Regions from separate parts of the Homo sapiens genome. Here region 1 is linked to region 2. Evidence: promoter capture Hi-C in 16 types of primary human blood cells and fetal thymus (Javierre and others, 2016). All regions are on one chromosome and are shown on one strand. The core of a region is centred on a gene start or on the middle of the fragment in contact, and the rest is flanking DNA. Distances in the headings are between cores, read along the strand shown. Region 1 holds the start of CTSK (cathepsin K). Region 2 holds the start of CA14 (carbonic anhydrase 14).

The links. Contacts are between HindIII fragments. The CHiCAGO score rates a contact against its expected background, and 5 or more counts as called.
Region 1: a fragment that was not itself captured here is called in contact with the fragment with the promoter of CA14 in region 2 in 1 of 17 cell types (endothelial precursors); the score reaches 6.5 in endothelial precursors.

The regions. Positions count from the first base shown.
Region 1 is chr1:150,806,559-150,810,949 of GRCh38, forward strand. CTSK (cathepsin K) reads right to left here and starts at 1,702. Exons shown (of 8, transcript NM_000396.4): 1 at 1,656-1,702; 2 at 128-248. The coding sequence starts at 247. It overlaps ARNT (aryl hydrocarbon receptor nuclear translocator), which reads right to left. Exons shown (of 22, transcript NM_001668.4): 22 at 3,155-4,391. The HindIII fragment of the contact is 1,367 bases long and covers 2,236-3,602 here.
Region 2 is chr1:150,256,353-150,260,653 of GRCh38, forward strand. It overlaps CA14 (carbonic anhydrase 14), which reads left to right and starts at 1,422. Exons shown (of 11, transcript NM_012113.3): 1 at 1,422-1,831; 2 at 3,799-3,819. The coding sequence starts at 1,777. RefSeq lists an enhancer at 1-306. The HindIII fragment of the contact is 8,593 bases long and covers 1-4,301 here.

The sequences.
Region 1 (4,391 bases), core at 1,669-4,168, 550 kb after region 2:
GAGTTAGGGAAGAGGGACTGATTTGCTTGGAATAAAGCATTTGGATTGAAGAAGGGAGTCTGGAAGCTAAGATGAGAGAGCTCAGGTCTCAGCCTTCCTGCCATGCCCCCTCCAGGACCCCAGGCACCTTGTTGTTATATTGCTTCCTGTGGGTCTTCTTCCATAGCTCCCAGTGGGTGTCCAGTATCTCCTCAGGGTACAGAGCAAAGCTCACCACAGGTAGCAGCAGAACCTTGAGCCCCCACATCCTGCAGAAGAATGTAGTTAGGGAAAACTCTTCCATTTGGCAGGGAAACAGAGGAAAACTAGGCTTTATGAGGAAGAGAAAGGTAGACGGAAAAAGGGTGATAAAACAATGATAGTCAGGAGGGGCCTGTGTTTAGATAGGATGCTGGTACATCTGGTTCCAAGGACTTTGATCTAGGGGGATTTAGCCATTTCTCTCTTTCTCTCTCTCTCTCTCTCTCGGGAGATTTAGGCAACACACACTCTCTCTGTTTCTCTCTCTGTCTCTCTCTCTCTCACACACACACACACACACACACACACACACACACACACACACACGTACACAACCAGAAATGGGGGATAGAAACTGGACAATCAGAATGGGCTCAGTGCGTTTCCTCCAGGGTCCCTAGCAGGCTTGGAGACAGACAAATAGCAAGGTGGTAGTGGGGTTCAGAATACACAAAGGAGAGATTTCCGTCTAAGTTTTGCCTCCTGATCATTTCTTCGAGGCGTTCTTCTCTTTCGTGCCTAAATTCTGGTACTTTCCCAGATCTTGTCAGAAGAGGACAAGGGAAAATAGGACAATGTTTCCTGTTTTCTGAGACATTGTATATCTCCTCATTCTCCTTATGCATTTCTTCTTCCTTTTTCTCTCCCTTCCCTCCTTAGGCAGGAAACTGCCCTAATCTTAACCAGATGCTGCGGGCAAGGTTTTTTATTTTTCCCCTAACAACAAAAACCCACTGTGGCTGCCGCAAAGGACAAGAAGCCTCAGATCCAAGGTTTGTTAGAAGAATGTTCAGACTGAAAAGCAATGTTCTATGATGATGAAATTCACAGCTTTTCATAAGTTTACTCTAGTTAGCTTCACTCATTTCTTGCATTGGCTTTCTTAATTACAAATCCTCCATTTTAAGAACAATTTGCAGCCTGCAGCATGACATATGGCTTACACAATTGCTTATAGTCCATTTACATGTAATTTTGCAAACTGGCAAAATGTCCAGTAGGACATTTAAAAACTAGAGTGTTAAGGGCTTTGAGATGTCTCAGTGAACAGGAAGCACTGAGCTACTACCTCCCCATACCACTCTCCTCCTCCTCACTAAGGAGTTAACCGTTTTGATCCTTGTTGGCCAAAGTAGAAAACACTGCAGAAAGGCCACTCTTGAAGGATGGGGAAATGATTCCCTATATACTTTGCTTTTACTAACAATCATGTATGTATATATATAAATCATACAAGGAATTCTACAGATTTCCAGGCAGATTTTATTTAGCCAGGGAATGACCTAAGAAGTGCATCTCTGTTTTCATCTGCAGAGGCTAAAAGTTTATTGTGATCCTCAAGTCACTACATCCCTAATACTCAGAGAATTGACAGGAATGAAAAGCTAAAAGATCTAGGAAGTTGCAAACGTTACCTGCTGATGGAAATCTGTTGTCTGGCTTCGTTTCGGCAGCAAAGTGTGGGCACACCATCAGGGGTGCTAGATTTATTCCATCGGGATTGCGGAAGTCAGCTCCAGTGATCGGCTGGAAAATTTGGGTAAGAGGAGGAGGCGGGGATAGAAATGCTGAGAGAAGGAAGGGTAGGGAGGAGGGAAGGAGGCAGTGGATTTGCAGTGTTTCTGTGTGTATGCAGCATGTGTGCCAGGGTAGGGAATTACTAGCTATTTAGTCTCACAAGACTGTCTTTGGTGGCAAATAACAAGACCTCAATATCTATTGACTCAAATAGGAGCTTACTTTCTCTTTTGGTGAGTAAAAGGAAGGACACAGCCCTAGTCTCTCCCATCCTTCTTCTTCAATATCTTTATTTTAATATTGGGGGATTATATCTTTTCCTACCCCTTTCCTGTTAGGATTTACCTCTCCAACATTGAAACCTATTTTCATATTTGTGTCTGACTCTCACCTCTGGGATGCGGTAATGAACATAAAAGGCTATAAAAGAATAATGTAATGGAAGCCATAGGCTCCAGAATTCTTTGTATTTTTATAAGCTTGTTGGTTGCAAGTTGTCATTACTTCCAGGCAGAATAGTTTTCCCAGCCTAATGTGGTTTTGCTGAAGGAGGATATGCCCAGAAAGTCCAGATGAAACTGTCTTTAAAAGTAACCAAAAACAGCAGTCCTGGTTATTTATGACAGCACTTGAATCAATGCCGTAAGTTCTGATGGACTCACATGTGACTCTGTTGCTAAAACTCTCAGGTGGTGGGATGCCCGATAAACATCATCTGTCTCAATTAAAATCCCCAATCTAGGACAAGTCACATGAGCTTCTCCAAATGCTTCCCCAACATCCAAGCATGTGACAGATCATAAGAATCTAGCTGATTCCTCAAACCACACCCCAAACTTCATTTTCTTCCATAAACAGATGTGGGGAAGGAGAAAAAAAGGCTTCTTGGAATAGAAAGGATAATAAATGGGATCTGTAATAGACTCAGTTTCTAGCTGGATTCCATGCATAAACCCTCAAAAATACAGGCTTATGCCTCTGGATTTTAAGAGCTGCTAACAGGCTAGGCGCAGTGGTTCACGCCTGTAATCCCAGGCCTTTGGGAGGCCAAAGCATGTGGATCACCTAAGGTCAGGAGTTCGAGACTAGCCTGGCCAACATATAGTGAAACCCCATCTCTACTAAAAAAAAAAAACACAAAAATTAGCTGGGCATGGTGGCACACACCTGTAGTGCCAGCTACTTGGGAAGCTGAGGCAGGAGAATTGCTTGAACCCAAGGGGCAGAGGTTGCAGTGAGCCAAGATCGTGCCACTGCACTCCAGCCTGGGTAACAGAGCGAGACTCCATCTCTCACACACACACACACACACACACACAAAAAAAAAAAAAAAAAAAAAAGTTGCTAATGAACCAACATAGTCTCCTAGAGGGAAACCAGGTCCAGACTTGAACAGTTTAAATTTCACTCATTTTAATCCAGAAAAGGACATACTGGGGGAAGGCATCCAGATGTGCCCTAGTGGTTTTCAAGTCCCGACTCTTCCCCTCTCTCCCAAGAACCCAGGCAACGCCCACCCCAAAACCCCCACCTCATGGTCAGAGCATTCCTGCTGATGTTACTCAGAATGTGTCAGGATCAGGAGGACAAGTGAGGGGGGAGGCGTGCAATGTGATCAGAACCCTATGATTTCTGATTCCTGAAATTAAAGACACAATGTGCCTTATGTTTGTATGTCTGGAGCTTAAACTATAGATTCCTCTGGTTGTGGGTGCCTGTTGTTTATGAACTGGAAAGGAATGATAAAGCCGCAATCAAGATCACACAACACAAGAAATTTTACAAAAGGAAAAAATATTTTGTTTGAAAATCTTTGCTACATGTCATTATTTTTGCCACTGTAAAGCTTAGCACAGATGCCAGCAATACAGAAATGGCCAACAAGAAAACAAAACAGTCAAAAATAAAACCCTGAAGGAAAAGCAAAAACAAAACCCCCAGAGCATCTTCTCGCTATCCTCCCCTTCCCCAAAAGCCCTATAATAACTGTACAATATTATAGTCCTGATCACATTTAAAAAGTCGATTATTAAAAAACAAGGGTTCCATTGGAAACTCAACTTTTTGGTTTCGTAAATTGTGATATAAATATATATGTATACTGTAAGTGTGCACATAGAATAAAAAAATAAACTGTCTCCTTTTTTACTCCACTACCTGGCACCAGACTGGAGACATAAGGAAGGGAAACTCAGCAAATGGACATTCCTTTGGCCTCTTCAAGGCCACCCTTGCTCCTCAGTCCCCTATGACTACATTTAATATATCTTCTCATTAATTCAGTCTTGCACTTTAGCTACTGGCCAAAGCCAATTTAAAAAAAAAAAAAAAAAAGCTGGTATCTACGACTGTTACCTGAGGAAGGTAAAGGGTGAGGGTAGTAACCTGTATCCGCATTTATATGGCTATTGTTAATTACCAAGTGACCCTGTTGAGATGGGTGTCCAGGCCCCATCTATCATACGGAATTATGATACTTGCACTCTAAAGCAAAACCCAATCTCAAGATTGGAGGGAGCAAAGAGGAAAAACCTCTTAGGGCCAGAGAGACTTAAATCTCAGTTGCTTGCTAAACTGGGTATTTTGAGTATGGGATGAAAGAGGCTACTTTGCAAGAGGGCTTCGTATTTGGT
Region 2 (4,301 bases), core at 172-2,671:
GGGACAAATAACTCAGAGGGTGATAGGAGAAGAAAAAGGGAAATGACATCAGCAAAATGGCTTGGCTTTGCAGATCAATCACAGGGGATAGAAAGGCACAGTGAGCTCCTGTCTCTGCAGGAGCTGATGATCCAGCACATGCATTATTCTGTTCATTTGGCTTTTATCCTGCTCCCTTATTTAGCTTCTGCTCCCTTTGTTTGGCTATTTATTGCTACTCGGCAGGAGCAAGGAGGGCAGAGGGAGCTTCAGATGGGTGCATCCTCCTGGCTGGTGCCTCTGGTGAAGAGCATGGAGGAGAAAGAGGTTTCAATGTCTGGCTTGAAAGTATCTGTGGGTTTCACATTCTCTAACGAGGGATTTAGGATGTACATTCCAATCGGGATTTCCAGTCCCGTGGGGAGCAAACATCAGTTCACATTCCTGAGACGTGCAGCCTCCATGCTCCACGGACGCAGCTCCTTGGTGGCAGGTTTCATTCAGTGCCACATGTCCTGCCTCAGCCCTTTGTTGGGCTGGAAGGAAGACCCTGAGCCCCTCTTCCATCTGGATCACATGGTCTCTCCAGACCCTCCCCTCTCTTTCTCTGGAAACCACCTTTTTCTGATGGTGGTAGTGATTGTTCCTAAAGTCTCTCCTTTCCTCCTGCCCTGGCCTCTCTGCCGGAGGTCAGTGTCCTCTTCAGTGACAAAAGCCGCCCTAGATCTGGGCTCCCTGGAGAGGGAGGTGGCTGGGTCTGGCAGTTACAGCCGCTGTCTCTCCATGGTGCTGCTACACCCCTCCCCCACTGGGCATACAAATGGGCTTTATCCAGCAAACAACGCTCCCTCCCCGCACTCCCCCCACCCCAGGCCACACAGGCACGTGGACCCAGGCCTCACCGTGGGAAGGGGGTGGTGGCAGGCACAGAAGAGATTGCTCCAGATGAGTTCTCCTTGCCTCACTTCTCTTCCTTAGAACTTAGGACACAACTCAGGTTTTAGTTATTGACTTCCTCCACCCCTCCCCTGCACCCTGAGTCCCTAATTCCTTCTTGTTATATATCTCCTAATTCTGGACTCTTCCCATTCCAGGGCAGCTCAGATTATGCAGGGAATTGGGAACAGGTACCCCCACCATCTGCCGCATACCACCCAGGGAGCTGCTCCTCAGAGGAGAAATCAGGCGGGGGGATGAAAATACAGTGTCCTTTTGAGGGGGCTGAGTTGAACCCCAAAGCCCCTTCCTTGACCCTGCCTGCTCCAGGGAACACCCATCTAAACAGCATCTGTGTGACTAGCAGAGGAAGGAAGAGCTCACCCCAGCTGGGCTCCTGAGCCAGGGCCAGGGCTCCAGTGAAACTTGCCGCGCTCCAGCTCCGAGTGGGGCCATCCTGCATGCCTAATTGGCTATTTAAGGAGCTGTTCACCAGCAGCCCAGGCAGCACCCCCGTCCCCACATACACCAGTTCAGAGCCACCTTAAAAGCAGGAGGCAGTTGTAAAGTCGCTGGCCAGCTAGTGGAGTGGAGACTGCAGAGGGAGATAAAGAGAGAGGGCAAAGAGGCAGCAAGAGATTTGTCCTGGGGATCCAGAAACCCATGATACCCTACTGAACACCGAATCCCCTGGAAGCCCACAGAGACAGAGACAGCAAGAGAAGCAGAGATAAATACACTCACGCCAGGAGCTCGCTCGCTCTCTCTCTCTCTCTCTCACTCCTCCCTCCCTCTCTCTCTGCCTGTCCTAGTCCTCTAGTCCTCAAATTCCCAGTCCCCTGCACCCCTTCCTGGGACACTATGTTGTTCTCCGCCCTCCTGCTGGAGGTGATTTGGATCCTGGCTGCAGATGGGGGTAGGTACAACTAAATGTCTGTGTGTGGATTTGTGCTGATGTTCACATGTCGCCAGGTGTGCTTAATGGGGGGAGGAGAGGTGTGAAAGGAAGCCTAGAGGCTGGAATAATAGGCTCAGAGATGAGGAAAAAAGAGTGGGGTGTGGAGGAGACCACTTCCCTTCTTTACCTTTTGTCTCTCCAGCCTTGTTGTTATTGGAGGTCGGGGAGAACTAGCGGCAGGCAGGCAGAGTGTGTACACATGCAAGTGCTGGAATCTCTTTGCAGGCTACAGATTTTCTCCAGAGCTCTTTCCCCCACTGCCCTGGTCCCAGGCAGGACTCCTGGACTTCTTTATTTACAAACTCCTCCAAATAGGGAGTCAAAGAGGCCTGGAGTAAAAAGATGGATAGATGGGGGTAGGGGGAAGAATACTTCCTGCCCAACTCAGACCCTGATCTCCAATTCATCCCCTTTTGGCCAAGATTCCCTCTTCATTCTGTGGAGCGACTAACTCCCCAGTTATCCTCTGAAAGTGGCAGTAAGAGTCAACATTTGTTTGACATTTTACAGTTTACAAAGGACTTTCAGGAGCTCCCAGGAGATGAGGAGGGATTCTTGGGAGAACAGGCTGAAGCGCTCCAGGAGTGTCCCCAGGAACTCCTAGACCTCATTTTTGTGTTTCCTGTGCCTAGCACAGTGTCCAGCACATACTAGGTGTGTAACTGAGGTTTGTGGAAAGAGCAGGGTGAGGTGGGTGTCCAGAGAGCAGAAGGCAAATGCAGAGAGGATGGGGGCAGGCAGGCAGCCAAATGGAGAGTCACAAATCTCATCTGAGGAGAAAGAAAAAAAGAGGGAAAGAGGAGGAAGAGACAGAATAAGTGTGTTGAGGCTCTGACCAGAGTGGACAGGCACCTTTACAGACCAGGGAGTTTGAGTTGTTGGGGGGTCCCACAGATATGGTAAAATGAGAGGCTGCCTCCAGCTCTCCCTTGGGCTAGCAGAATAGGTCAAGGATAAGAGCAGGACATCTCACAAGTTTGAGGAATTTAAGGGAATAAGAGACAGAGAGAGGAAGGAATTTAGGATTTTTCTCCAGAGTTTCTAGTAGTATGAATATTGCAGCATAAACCATGAAGGCCTTCGTTTTCTTCTTGAGGCAGTTTGGCCGTAGGGAGGGGCTGGACCTGCAGACCCTCAGCCTTTGCGTCAGACAGGACTGCACGAGAGCCTGGCATGTGACCCAGCTGGCAGCTCTCTTCTCTACACACAATGCTTCACTTTCATCCTGTCCCTGCCAGCCTGGCTGCCTGTGCCCACCCACCACCCTCAATCTAGAGTAGACCCTGCCCTGACTCCCACCCTTCCCTAACCATCTCAGAATGTAGGGAGCAGAGCCTCCTGGTGATGAGGAGTTTCCTCTAGAGCTAATGGGACCAGAAAAGAAGAATTTACATATGAGTTTACAGCTCAGTGGCTTTATTCATGCAATTTTTTAAAGCAAAGGAATAATCTCCCCTTCTCCCCTCAGTAGCACCCCCCAACACACACACACTCTAAACTCCTTTCTCCTCCCCGCTTTCTAGTCCCTATCCTTCCAACCCTCTGCCCACACCCTCACCCCACCCACCCCAATCTTCTAAGTGTTAGATTGACTTGGCACAGGTTACAGAAAAGAAAGGGTTGGGCCAATCGCACATTTGGATCCAGGTTAATTTTAGTCTCTGGGCTTTACCTCTTTTCCTTCCTCCTCCCCTTTTACTCGGCAGGCACCAACACAGCCTGGCTGGTGATTTTAAATAGGCCCCCCGACCTTTCCACAGAGGTGTCCGGTTTCAGGGCTTCCTTTGCAAAGTGCTGGAGCAGAGGGAGGAGAGACTGCAGAGAGGGAGGTGGAGCAGTACAGAATGCCAGAGGGAGGGGAGTGTGGAGGCCAGGGTTCTGCCCCAGGCTGCGCTGGCTGTAACCCAAACTATTCTGCCTTGCAGGTCAACACTGGACGTATGAGGGTGAGCAGATCTCAAGGCCTCCCGACAACCCTTTCACACTGGGACCTCCTCACCTGGCAGGAAGACACACTGTGCGGGTGGGAGGAGACTTCCTTTACCTTCTCACCCTAGCTCCTCCCTTCTGGATCTCCTCCTGCCTTGAGTTTCACATATATGGCTCCTAGATCCTGCTCTAATCATCAAATCCTACACCTCCTGATTTGGCAGAAAAGCTAGTTAAGTCCTCAGTAAATCGTGTAGGAGTGAGGGAGCTGGGGTGGAAAGGAAGCTGGGTGGGAACTCTGAGCTTAGCTGCCAGGTCTCCTTCTGGCTCCGTCTATCCTAATCCATCCTACCCCTAACCTGCATCTGAAATTGGGACAGAGCTGGAGGTCAGGGGTGAGGAAGAGGCTGGCAGGATAGTTTCTGACCCTGGGGGAGGTGGAACTCAGTTCCTATGAACTACTGATTAATGACTTAACCAAACTCAAGTTCATGATAAA